Regions from separate parts of the Homo sapiens genome. Here all the other regions are linked to region 3. Evidence: promoter capture Hi-C in 16 types of primary human blood cells and fetal thymus (Javierre and others, 2016). All regions are on one chromosome and are shown on one strand. The core of a region is centred on a gene start or on the middle of the fragment in contact, and the rest is flanking DNA. Distances in the headings are between cores, read along the strand shown.

What was found. The method cuts DNA at HindIII sites, captures the fragments that hold promoters and counts their contacts. A CHiCAGO score of 5 or more calls a contact.
Region 1: a contact is called between a fragment that was not itself captured here and the fragment with the promoter of EIF1AY in region 3, in 1 of 17 cell types (fetal thymus). The highest score is 5.7, in fetal thymus.
Region 2: a contact is called between a fragment that was not itself captured here and the fragment with the promoter of EIF1AY in region 3, in 1 of 17 cell types (neutrophils). The highest score is 5.3, in neutrophils.
Region 4: a fragment that was not itself captured here is called in contact with the fragment with the promoter of EIF1AY in region 3 in 1 of 17 cell types (neutrophils); the score reaches 5.5 in neutrophils.

The regions. Positions count from the first base shown.
Region 1 is chrY:19,589,713-19,592,939 of GRCh38, forward strand. It overlaps the pseudogene TXLNGY. Among named protein-coding and RNA genes, the nearest start is that of KDM5D, 150 kb to the right of the region's middle. The HindIII fragment of the contact is 188 bases long and covers 1,677-1,864 here.
Region 2 is chrY:21,116,120-21,119,340 of GRCh38, forward strand. No RefSeq gene overlaps it. Among named protein-coding and RNA genes, the nearest start is that of PRORY, 330 kb to the right of the region's middle. The HindIII fragment of the contact is 6,496 bases long and covers 1-3,221 here.
Region 3 is chrY:20,574,223-20,577,603 of GRCh38, forward strand. It overlaps EIF1AY (eukaryotic translation initiation factor 1A Y-linked), which reads left to right and starts at 1,554. Exons shown (of 7, transcript NM_004681.4): 1 at 1,554-1,665. The coding sequence starts at 1,650. It overlaps TTTY10 (testis expressed transcript, Y-linked 10), which reads right to left and starts at 1,293. Exons shown (of 10, transcript NR_197944.1): 1 at 884-1,293. The HindIII fragment of the contact is 11,947 bases long and covers 1-3,381 here.
Region 4 is chrY:21,148,562-21,152,063 of GRCh38, forward strand. It overlaps LOC105377225 (a long non-coding RNA gene), which reads left to right. Exons shown (of 7, transcript XR_007068465.1): 5 at 3,028-3,081. Among named protein-coding and RNA genes, the nearest start is that of PRORY, 300 kb to the right of the region's middle. The HindIII fragment of the contact is 3,974 bases long and covers 183-3,502 here.

The DNA of each region.
Region 1 (3,227 bases), core at 521-3,020, 980 kb before region 3:
TGATATTTTATCTCAAAATTGAAAACAATCTCCTTTCTTTAGTACTTATGATTGGTGTGTGTGACTTCATCTTATGAAATGATGTATAGAACATAATAATACTTTTTTAAATGTGAAATAAATTTCCTAAAACTTAATATGCTAGATCAGCAGTTTTTTTTTTTTGTATGCTTAAGATGCCTGACAATTGGGAGGAAGTGGTTTCTGTATTTAAAATTTTCCGAAGGAATTCTGCAGATTCAAGCTCTAACCATTCTTGATTAAAATTGTGAGTTAGATAAGATTGTTTAGTAAAATTGTACTATGGCTCAGGAAATATTTATTTAATATCTACTGTATGCCAAGCATTGTTCTTTTTTCCATCTTCCAGGGAAATTCACCTCTTCTATAGAAGAGTTTGTTTTGAACTATACGATTTGAAACAAAATTCTTTTTTTGGAGACTATGGAAACATTCTCAACAGGGAAACCCTACTAGACTTTGTAAAGCAAATAATGGAAAAGATACAGAACTTTTTGAAGAATCATGGGAAATTTTTATAATTAAATAAATGCTAAAATTCTGTTTTGTGAAACATTTATGGGAATTATCACTGACAGTTTTTGTACACTTTCAAATAGTGTTAAAGCAGCAACTCCATGTTGTAAATGCACAAAACAAATATTTAGTTAATAATCAACTCCAAGAATAAAGCTGTAACAATAATAGTTACTATTCTCTCATGTGGTCCATATTTACCTCCACTTAGCTGGCATCTTCAAGTGCCACATACTTAGCAGCAGCCTGGCACCTTCTGATATTTTGAGAAGCAGGAATCCCTGAGCATAAATGTAAATAGCTTAGAACTGTCCAAAAGCAAAGACAGCAGAAAATAAAATTGTTGCTTGCTATGTTCAGGAAAGGAATGCTTCCATTGGATATGGAAGCCAGTCTCAATTGTTACATCAGCCTGAGGAAACTCATGCGAGAAATGCCAGAAAAAGAAGACAGCAACAAAGAAGATAAAAGAAAGACTGACAAAAGCATTGAATTTCTGGTAGAAAAAGCAGTGTACTAGAAGGTTAGGAGATTTCCTAGCTGTCAGCCATGAAAGGGTTGGGGAAGAAAGAGCAATTTGGTTGCATACTGTAGCATGGTCATCTAGGGTGGTCCTCAAACACATAGAAATCACACAAGAATTGTCAAATTGAAGATTTGGATTTAGTAGATCTGAAAACGCACTTTGTAAAATTGGCCACAGTAGAGGTGGAAGTGACTGAAATACTGCATTATTTATTTATTTAATTAATTTATTTTAGTCAGAGTCTTGCACTGTCGCTAAGGCTGGTATACCATGGTTCAGTCACAGTTCACTACAGTCTTGAACTCCTAGGCTCAAACAATTCTCCTGTATCGGCCTCCTGAGTACCTGGCACTACAGACATGCACAAGCATGCATGGCTAATTTTAAAAAAATTTTTGTAGAAATGGAGTCATGAACTCCTGGGCTCAAGTGATCCTCCCACCTCAACTTCCCAGAGTGTTGAGTGAGATTACAGTTATGAGCCACCATCCCTGGCCAATAAAGGTGTTTTTAATACCTATAAGAATATTGCCTGCAAGGATGTTTGATAGGTTTCTTGATATTTCATTCTCTCTTGAAATGTTTGCTTCGTCAATTTTTTATTTTTCATAAAAGCTTTACTCAAGAATTAGGATGACCACTATGTTATCTAGTAGTATAATTTGGAATCATTTATTATAAATCTGAAACTGACTTGACTGATGAATCTTGAGCACTGCTTATTGTGTTCTAATTTTGGTAGCTGTTTCAATAAAGTAGCTCTTGTAGAATAGGAAAACTATATCATTTTAGTCTGAAATAAGCTTTTGATTAAAAGGTTACTTTTTCCTATTAATAAAAAATGGAGATTAAGATTGCTTTTCTTGCTACACAAAATTATTTACATACTTTCCTGTCACTAGAAAAGAGGGGAACATAAAATGTTCCATGGCTGTAATTGCAGTGCTTAGAGCTATAACTCAGATTACTATACTTCCTAAATGTAAAGTGGTTATTAATTTTAGCTGGAGGAAAGCAGGAATGTTCAGAGGCAAATGAAGATTCTGCAGAATAAGCAAGCTCAGATTGTCAAAGAGAAAGTTCACTTGCAGAGTGAATACAGCAAGACCATCTTGGCAAGAAGCAAGCTAGAATCTCTTTGCAGGGAACTTCAGCAAAATTAATGTCAAAATAAGACATTAAAGGTTAGTTGGTTTATTTTACTGTATTTCAGGAACTACTTAGGCTGCTTTTATAATCGCCTTGTAACTACTTGAAATAAATTCTTGCTCTATGTCTTTTAATGGGAATTAGTTGCTATAATGGCTTCTTGTTAACTGGCTCAGGTACACTTGTGCTGGTAGATCAGATTCCTAAGCAGACAACTTTGTAGACATCTTAACACAGAGATCCCTTGCTTTTTGTTTTGCTTGAGCTGATGCTGCCTGTGAGGTAACTCTCTAAAGACTCACTCTATGTAAATTTTGGTTTCAGATTCAAGGATAAGCTCTACCTTAGTCTACTGTATACTTGATCACAGGGAATCTAGATGACATTGGTTTTTATGTTCACAGCTCTCCTGCTTAAAAAGCTCACAGTTGCCAGATATTTTTGTTGGCTTTTGGTGTAGTTGGTTATCATGTCCTTTTTTGGTAATGAGTGAAAATCTTAGCTGAAATGAAGAAACTGGTAGCCATAGTCAGTGTGAGTTTGAGAAAGAAAAACACACTGTAGAGCTCTACTATAAAAGTTAATAGGATAGATTGTTAAACTACATTCTGCCATCTTTGGCTATTTGGTTGCTAAATACTTTAGAATATTACTTACAGCTAGGCTGATTATAACAGAAGAAGGATTAAGTATGACAGCTTGTCTCAATAATGGAAGTAAAAAGCAGAGATCCTGGAAAGAATCTGCCATCCATCAGAGGAATTTGTCTGACTTTGTGGTATTGCTAGGGGGTGTATGGTTGGAGTATTATTTTGATGGTGCTGGATCACCCTCATCACAGTAAACTCAAGAACATAGGACAGCTTGTGAAATAGGTTCTTACTTGTAAGGTTTGTATTTATTTTTCTTGCTTTTGAAATCTTGGATTTAAATATAATAAAAGTAGATAGCACTGTCAATATTTAGACTGTACTGATAACTGTTTAGGTAAAGGTCTGTTGACACTTGTATCCTA
Region 2 (3,221 bases), core at 256-2,755, 540 kb after region 3:
ATGCTCAGTTTTTTGAGGATCTTAGTCATAAACAGATAATGCACTTCATCAAATAATTTTCAGAATCAATTGAAAAGATTGTATAATTTTGGGGGGTTGTTTTTCATCTTGTTGGTAAGATTTATCACATTGACTGATTTGCATATGTTGAAGAATCCTTGCATCCATTGGATAAATCTCACTTTGTCATGATGAACAATCTTTTAAATGTATTGTTGAATTATGTTTTTTCTTAGCAATTTTTAAGCATATAATTTGTTATTTTTTACTATAGTCATCATGTTCTATGATAGATCTCTTGAGCTTATTCATTCTGCCTAACTTAACAATTATATGTTGTTTGATCAGCATTTCCCCACTTCTCCCCCATCCTAGGCCTCTGGTAACCAGAATTTTACTTTAAAATTTTTGCATTTTAAAACTAAAAATGTTAATGCACGAAAAATTGTATACAAGGTTAAGGTATAATACCATGTTTTGCCCTCTCTCTTTCTCTCTCTCTGTGTATATACACACATCTCTCTATATATGTTGTTAAATGAATAAATCAGGCTAATTGGGTAAAAACATTTAAAATCTATTATTTTAGCTATTTTGAAATATATGTTCCTCACTATAGTCACTATACTATGCAATAGATCTCTAAAACTCATCTGCACTGACTAACTGAAACTTTGATGAACTCCTTCCCATTCTTCTCCCCACCCATCTCTCCCAGCCTCTGGTAACCACTGCTTTACTCTCTACTTCTACAAGCTCAAACTTTTCAGTCTACATATAAGTGATATCATGTAATATTTATCTTTCTGTACCTTGCTTACTTTACTTAATATAACCTCCTTTTTTGTTCATCACATTGTAAAAAATGGCAAGATTTTCTCATATTTTAAGGTTGAAGAGTATTTCTTATATTTTAGGGTTGAAGAGTATTACATAGGTTGATTCTGTATTTTGGCTATTGTGAATAATGCTACAATGAACATGAGACAGCAGATATATTTTCCACATATTGATATCATTAGCCTTTGGAGATATCTAATAAGGACATTGCTGGATTATATTATAGTTCTATTTTTAATTTATTGAGATATGTCTATACAGCTTTCCACTGTGGCTGCACTAATTTATATTCCCACCAAGAGTACAAGGGTTTTCTTTCCTCCACATTGTCACCAACATGTTATTATTTGTGTGTGTTTTTAATCATAGTCTTTCTAACAGACATGAGGTGATATCTCACTATAGTTTTAATTTGTGTTTCCTTGATGATTAGGATTACTGATGTTAAACATATTTTTACATGTGTTAGCCTTTTTATTTGTTTTTTGTTTTGTTTTGTTTTTGAGACAGGCTCTTGCTTTGTCACCCATTCTGGAGTGCAGTAGCATGATCTCAGCTCACCGCAACTTCTGCCTTCTGGTTCCAAGCAAGTTTCCACCTCAGCCTCCTGGGTAGCTGAGACTACAGGCATGAATGACCATGCCTAATTTTTCTATTTTTTTCATGGAGACAAGGTTTCATAATGTTTGCCAGGCTTGTCCTAAACTCCGGACCTCAAGTAATCCACCCACCTTGGCCTCCCACAGTGCTGAAATTACAGGCCTGTGCCACTGCACCCAACCCTGAATTTCTGAAATAATGTTAAAGACTTTGACTAGATCTCTCTTCTTATCCAGAAATTTTTATTTCAAATCCTGTGAGATAGTTTGAAAAATGGGCCCTCCAAAGATATTAACTTTTTACTCTTTCTCCCTGTAATGGTTCCTTATTGCTAAAAGGTCTTTACAGTTACAATGAAGAATCTTGAAATGCAAGATTATCCTGGATTATCCATGTGTACCCTGGATGCCACAATGACTTTTCTTGTGAAAGAGAAAAGATTCCCTTGTCCCACACACAGGGCATGTGACAGGGGGAGTGCTCACTTCTTCAGTGCCCCCACTGCTCATATCTCTAAGGGAGCATACAGATGAACCAGTTGTGGAATTCTGACCCCACAGCAGCATCTAGGGTTGAATTTTTACAGCTCCTGAAGCCCCAGTGAGCATGTGCTACTATGTAAATTTTCAGTTTTGCCATCTATTGGTAACTTGTGTTGGTAGTTTGTGTTGACCAGCTCACTTAGACCCTCTACCTTGTCACAAGGACAGAGGGCTTTCTGTATCTCAGGTTCTCATCTTGGTGTACCAGAAGAATTGAATCACACCTGGACTTGGAGAATGAGTGCAAGGTTTTATTGAGTGGAGGTAGCTCTCAGCAGATGGGGAATGCCAGAAGACGATGGAGTGGAAAGGTTTTCCCAGGAGTCTCGCCGTTCAGAGACCCAGAATCTCCTACTACCTGGGCCAAACTTCACATTGTTCTAATGTTTGATGGCATTCTGGCATGCCAATGCCTGTCAGTGTGCTGTCAATGTCCTCTCAATATCTATTCACTTGTGTGTTCCTCCACTGGTGTGTTTCTGTTGATGTCCAGCCACTTGTACATCTCTGCCTGCTAGGGTTTCAGGGTTTTTACAGGCACAGGATGGGGGCATGGTGGGCCAGAGAGGTCTTGAGAAATGTAACATTTGGGAGCAAAGGCAAGATTTCTTGTTTTCACCTAGGTCAATGGGCATAGCCTCAGAGCTAGAGCCCTCACCAGATACCCACCCTTCTTTACCCAGAACTTCTCTTCCCCTATTTCATGTCACTTATAAAAGAGAGACATAGGGGCTCACATAACACAAACACAGAGAAAAAGTGATGTAAAAATAATACCCAAAGCTGAAGTATGCAGCCACAAGCCAAGGAATGGCAACAGGCACAAGATGGTAAAGAGAAATGGAATGAATTCTTTCCTAGAGCCTCTGAAAGGAGCACAGTCATGCCAGCACCTTGATTTCCACCCTGGGATAATGATGTGTGAATTTTTTTTCATACAGAACTGTAAGAAAATACATTTTATGTTGTTGTCTGCCACCAAGTTTGTGGTAATGTTTTACTGCAAAGACATGACTCTCTATATCCTACTAAGTATTTTCCTGTATGTAACTTCTTGTCTTTTTTCACAAATGCACCAGGCCCTGATAATCAATACATAGGTAAATAGGTCCAGCATGTTTCTCTGCTCCTTTATAGAAGAGCCCAACACCTATTCCATATGTTTAGAAACTCAGTAGAGTGCCACAGTGATTGAAATACTAAGGAATGAGAGGAAAGTTTTTCTGAGATGGAGTCTTG
Region 3 (3,381 bases), core at 304-2,803:
GTGGAGAGGACTTCTGGGTTCAGAGAAAATTTTATTTTTAATGTTATGGCTTCATCACTAGGCTTTTAAAAACAAAACCATGAAGACTTAAATTCCTTAAAACCAGTAGTGATGATCAGGGTACTACCACTTACCTTGCAGAAAAAAAGAAAGAAAAAAAAAGGATTAGGAGGATACTACACTATGTATATGATGGCCAATTATATGCCCAACAAGTAAGATAATTTAGAATAAATGAACAAAGTCCTGATACATACATACTATTTACCTTGCAGAAAGGGAAAAAAAAGGATTAGGAAGATACTATACTTTGTATATGATGGCCAATTATACGCCCAACAAGTTTTATAATTTAGAATAAATGAACAAATTTCTGGTACATACAAACTACCAGAACTGACTTGGGAATAAATACAGCACGAATTCATAATCCAAACTAAGGCCTAGGACCATTTAAAAAATTTACATCAATCCTCGAATGTGTCCAAAAACACAGAAGAAAAAGGGACACTACACAGTTCATTCTGTGAAGCCGGGATTATATTGATCCTAAAGTCAAAGTCATCACACGATACAAGCCAATATATCTTAACACAGATGCTAAGATTCTAAACATAATAGTACACACACAACAAATCCAGTAAATTAAATGATTGTATACCATAATCAAATGGAATTTGTCTTGAAATAATTTGACCTCCACAGCCAGTCCATTTGAGACATTCGGTTAAGCCATGATTTATTATAAGATTCAGATGCTTAGTCTCACTCCTTCCTATGTATATTTACTTTCCATTTCCTGTATATATTTACTGTCTACTTTTTGTCAGTATTCCGCTGGGTGCTAGCAATTGTAAGCAACAGATGCGGCCTCTGTACTTACATGCTTTACTGTGAGGTGGTGAGGTAGAGAAGATAAGACTGAAAAAAATAGGCCGGGCGCGGTGGCTCACTACTGCAATCCCAGGAATTTGGGCGGCAGAGGCGGGAGGATCACTAGGTCAGGGGTTTGAGAGCCTGGCCAACATGGTGAAACCCCATCTCTACTAAAAATACAAAAATTAGACGGGCAGATCGCGCCCCTGCACTCCAGCATGGGCAACAAGAGCGAAACTTCGTTGTCAAAAAAAAAAAAAAAAAAGAGAGAAAAGTGATAAACATTCTGAACATAGAGGGCCTTGTCCTAAGCCAGTCCTCCAAATTCACTGTATAAGAGTAAGGGCTCTCTTAAAATTTAGGCGTTTACAGTTAAATGACCCACGAACTTCTGAAACTGGAAGACCGTTTTTTAGCAAAGGAGAATACTCCAGGGCCCCGCCCATTTCATCCTTGACTCCACCTTCTCCATGCTGAGTCCCGCCCCGCTTCCTGTTTATTCATCCTGCAGCAAACTCTCCGGTATCCTGATGGAGTCTACTAGGTGTCAGTCATTTGGCCGTGCCTCAGCCGAAGAGAGGCGGGGAAAAGCATCGTAATCAGCTGCGTCGCCTTTTGGTGACGCCAGAGAGTGCGCGTCAGCAGTTTATTAGAGAGCTCTGTAGCCAGCCTCTTCTGCGCACCCACCTGCTGCATCTTAGTTCAGTCGGCTCTTAGAGTAGTAACCGCCAGAAAGGAGTCGGAAGAGGTCTCACGAGGCTGTCATCACCGCCATGCCCAAGAATAAAGGTACTGCTGTAAGCCTCTGGGACTATACCTCGGCTTGCTCTGCCAGTAACCCCGACGCCTGTTCCAGGCCGCAGTGACTGTTCTAACGGCGGTACTGGCCACTGCGACCCCAGCACTGTGTTCGGGAAAGGAGCTGGGAATGCCCTATTTGGTCACATTGGGGTGGGACAGACGCCATTTTTGTGGGGCCTCCTTCGGAAGATAGCGGGCTTTTGCTGCTGATTTCACGCCAGACGGAAAACGTATAGGTAGGGACGGTTGAGGGACCTTAACCGGACGGCCTGGCTTTCCAGAATAGGCACATGCAAACACTTCCCTGCTACTTTCCTGGAAGCGGTTCTTAACTTTGAAGACTTACCTATCTGGACAGTTAAAAGTATTGCTAAGGATACTCCCTTTTCCTTGTTAAACAGTGGGGAAGCCTTGAAGCATGTTTAGGTTCATTTCTGGCGTTTTACTCTACCCCATCCCTTTATAGAGTGTAACATTCTTTTGCAGAAGATTTGTTACCTATTTAGGCAGGTTTTCAACTTCCGTATCCGATAAATATTGTGGGAGTAAAGATATCAACGTTCCCTTCATTCTGAGGCTAAACTTTCACACGAAACTTAGACTTGAAAATAAGTTTACTCACAGCTTCTAAAGTAGGAGGTCTAACCTCGGTAGAACCCTTTCTCAGTCATTTCTGAAAGAAATTCTCGTTTTTATACACCTGAGGTAATCTCTCACTTTTAGTGCCCTTGTAATTGCTTGAAGAAAACTGTAGGTGGAAACAAAATATTATTTTCCACAGGAGGGGACCATGTTTTATAGTCCACAAAAACTCTGTTTAGATTATTCCTTCCTGGGACCCAGACCAATTTGTCTTCTTTTTACTTGCCTGTTGGCAGCATGGAATCTGTTTCATTTTCTCTTTTTAGCTGTCACGACACACAGCTCTTGAGGTACTTGGTGACAGTACAGTGCAGTCTTTCCTGGGCATTACTCTTTGCTCTCCCGAAAACCCACTAACGGGTTGTGTGTATAATAAGGTTTTATTTTATTTTATTTTATTTTTTACTGCAAAATTATTGGAGGATAAAGTGTATTCTGGGAGAAGTCTAATTAGAAAGAGTTAGCAAAGGCTTATGCTTTTTCACTAACATTTTCTCAGATGGTACTGAACAACTTCAGTAGGTATCTTGTTCTCACCTTTATTTCTAGTGATGAGATTCCCAGTTCTCTAAGCCATCAGCTCTAAAGATCAGAGTATCTCCCTTTGCAAAATGTCCATTAAATCTTTGCTGATGTTATTATCCCTGTACCTGACTCTATCCTTAAATAGTAAGGCTTCCTTTATTCTTGTAGGGTAGAACTTTTAAACTGAGTGATGCCTAAAAATGTTCTCAATAAAGAGAGTATCTCCAAAACACGTCGGATTTGTTTAAAGAGGAAGTGTGGATTTTTTGATCTTAGAAAGGAAACGAGATAAAATATTAAACGACTTTAATTTTTGTATGATCATGCCTAGCCTCATTCCTCTAAAATATAATTTAAAGTGGATTCTGTTACATGGTATCACAATAGAAGGGGAATGATCAGGGTTTGGTTAATCCTGGTAAATTGAAAACAATTTTTTTTTTATCATATGTGCCTCAGAAGGCACACAAAAGAAGTATAGTGGCCGGGCGCGGTGGCTCACGCGTGTAATCCCAGCACCTTGGAGGCCAAGGCGGG
Region 4 (3,502 bases), core at 920-3,419, 570 kb after region 3:
ACCTCAAGAAGAGACAAGTTTACCCAACTCACAGGTATTTGAGGATACAAACCCATGACTGGGCTTGGCTTTAAAAATTCCTATCTGAAATTTCTAGTGGAATAAAGTCTCATCAAATCTAATCTAAAAGGCCTGTGTAAAAATAATTATTCTTGCTGCACTTTATGCAAACAATCAGACCAAGCTTAAAACTAAAGTTTATTTTGCAAACAACTCAGTCCTATCATAATTTTTTTAACAGAACAAAGACTGAAAATAAATAAATTATATTCAAAACTTATCACACCTCTGTCATTAACTTCTAGTCTCATTTGTTGTTTTTAAGTTCTGAGCTGCATTTTAAAATAATCCTGTCTATTTCTGTAACCAGCCAGTGATTTCTGGCTGCAGCTCAGAGGAAATAGAAAGGGATGGGTAACGTGAAAATCTGGTAAAATATTCTAGTTCTAGGTAATTATTCTACAAATTCTGCCAGGTAACCTAAAGCCCCAAAGTTTTTCTGGGGGCTGAACATAAGAAAAAGGAAGCTCAACAAAGCATGGCCCGTGCACCCAAATCTTATAAAGCATAACTATTGCTAGCAATTATCAGGGTGTGTCAGAAGCCTCAGAATTTTAAAAGTTGTTCTTACCCCATTTGTATAATTTTAATACATGTTCTCTAATAACCCACATTTTTTTCTTTCTTTCCCTTTCTTTCTTTTCTTTCTTTCTTTCTTTCTTTCTTTCTTTCTTTCTTTCTTTCTTTCTTTCTTTCTTTCCTTCCTTCCTTCCTTCCTTCCTTCCTTCCTTCCTTCCTTCCTTTCCTTCCTTCCTTCTTTCTTTCTTTTTTTTTTTTTTTGACAGAGCCTTGCTCTGTCACCCTAGCTGGAGTGGAGTGGCATGACCTCGGCTCACTGCAACCTCTGCCTCCTGAGTTCAAGCAATTCTCCTGTCTCAGCCATCCAAGTTGCTGGGACTAAAGGCACATGCCACCACATCTGGCTAATTTTTTTGTATTTTTAGTAGAGATAGGGTTTCACTATATTGGTCAAGCTGGTCTTGAACTCCTGATCTCAGATGATCTGCCTGCCTAGGCTTCTAAAAGTGCAGGGATTACAGAAGTAAGCCACCGCACCCGACCAATTTTTTTTTTTTTTTCACCTGGAGGCTATCAAGCTCCAAATGGTAATGCAAATAAAATGAGACATCAACAAGCCTTTTATTTGAGGCACCTTAAATCAGCCCCTGAAGGAGTCTTAGCTGCTGTTTTCCCACACAACACCCCTCTTCGGCTGGAATTACTCAGAAATCAATATCCAATCTCCCCAACAGCAGTTAGAGTTTCCACTCCTAAAAGGAGAATGAGGTAGAAGAAAAGAAAGATAATTCTGGAAAAACATGAGCTGTACCTGCAACAGATAAGAAACTTTATATAATTAGCAAACTCCCAGGAAAATGTTTCCTCCCCTTTTCAAGCACATACATAGTGGTAAATTGCACAGTGAGGAGGCAGGCTAATTGAAAACAAACCAATAGTTATACAAACAAAAGAAGTGGTGCTTTGTGTTTGCCTAGAGATATTTCCACAGCTGCATAAGATAAGGGGAGTGGCACAGAGAACTTAACTGGTAAAAGAAGTTACTCAAACTGCTACAGAGATGAGAGGCATATCTTATGAAAGTTTTTGAATGCAGCTGTATCTGGCAATTCACTTGGACTCCCTTATCTGCTGTGAAGAGCTTCATTTATTTCACTTATCAAACTTTCACTCCAACCCTATCTTTGTGTCAATGTTCCCTAAGTTTCCTGGATGTAGGACAAAAACCTGGGGTACTAATAGAGACAAAGAGAAAATCCTACATTAAGGTGCTTTGGTGAGACAGCAACCGTGTTTTATAGGAATAGTTGGGCAGTTCTCTTTTCACTGAAATAGATTTTTCATAGCAAATAGACTTTACAATGGTAGTATCTGGCCCACTAAGCTGATTTATTTCTCAGGAATTCTGTGTATTTGAAATATATGTATACTCAGTGATTATTAAGTAATGAGCTGTGGGTTTCACATTAATTCAAAAAAGCTCTGAAAATATGTAGCATTTAAAATTAAGAAATTTGTCCTTATTGTGACTTTTTAAAATAGAAGAAGCAACTATATACTGTAGCCAATCTTTTCTTTTAATGGTGGAAGTTAAGCCATTTACATTTAAAATACTTTTTGATAGGTGTGGCTTTATTCTATCATCTTGTTAAGTTTTTGATATTTTTGTATGTCTTTGTATACCATTTTTAATGCTTATCTTTGGAATGTTGTGTTTGTCCATAGTGATAAAATGTGATTCATTTTTTATTTCTCACTTCTGTATCTTTTCTTCTAAGAAGTGTTAGTTTAAAGTATTTCCATAATGGTAGATGTAGACCATTTACTTCAGATGCAGGAATTCTTTCTAAATTTCTAGCAGAAAATACTTCATTTATTTTTATTTCTGAATGATAGTTTTGCAATGTGTAGAATTCTAAGTTGATTTTTTTTTTCACTCAGCTTCTTGGTAATACCTTTCCTTTATGTTCTTCCCTTTAAATTTTCTGCTGAAAAATTAGGTCTTAGTTCAATAAGGGAAGTTCTTATATTTGACTTGACACTTCTTTTGTGTTTTAAAAATGTGTTGTCTTTTGCTGGATGGTTAGACTATAATTCACATCAAGATAAATGTTTTGTGGTTAAATTTATTTGTGATTTCTGGAGCTTTCCATATCTGTATGTCTACATTTTCTCCAGTATTTGGACTGCTTTTAGTTATAATATTATTAAATAAGATTTTATGTTTTTTATCCCCAATATTTGAATATCTTTATGTTCTCTTGTATGTCACTTGGACTTTCTTCTATATTTAATTTTTCTGTTTGTGTATAATATCACTTTTTAAAATTGTCCTCAAATTTTGTGTTTATTTTATTTCCTCTGCTTTATTTAGTGTATTTCTGAGTATCCTGTTTGCATTTTTTATTATTGTTTTAAAAATATCTCTTTTGCTCCCTTACAAACAAGTGCTCACTGCTGCAAAGAAGAACAAGCACACAGGCAAAAAGTTTTCCCAGCAAGGTAATTTGCTTCTGCAGAAGGTTGCTGCCTACCTCAGTCACAATTGCAAGAGCACCCCGAATAAAACAGAGAAGGGATTTTTATCCGTAATACAGTTCCTGTCCCTGTGTCCTTCCCTTATTGGCTGGGATTGAACTGCACAATCTAAACTGATTTGGGTTGGCTAAGAATTAAACTTTTCTAAATGGGGCAAATGCACAATTTGTAAGAGAAGAAGCAGGTAGGAGGGATCTGTTTGTTGCAGTACAAGGCATGTCTGAACATGTCTGGGCATGGCAGGGTGCAACTGGAGTGGGAGGGTGGTTTGCAGGCTGGAAACAAGAGTACAAGGAGGTTAGGATTTTGAACAAAGGAAAATAACATTACGCAATTAAACCTTTTGAAGAGGAAATTATCATTCCTAACAATTTCCCCATTTGTC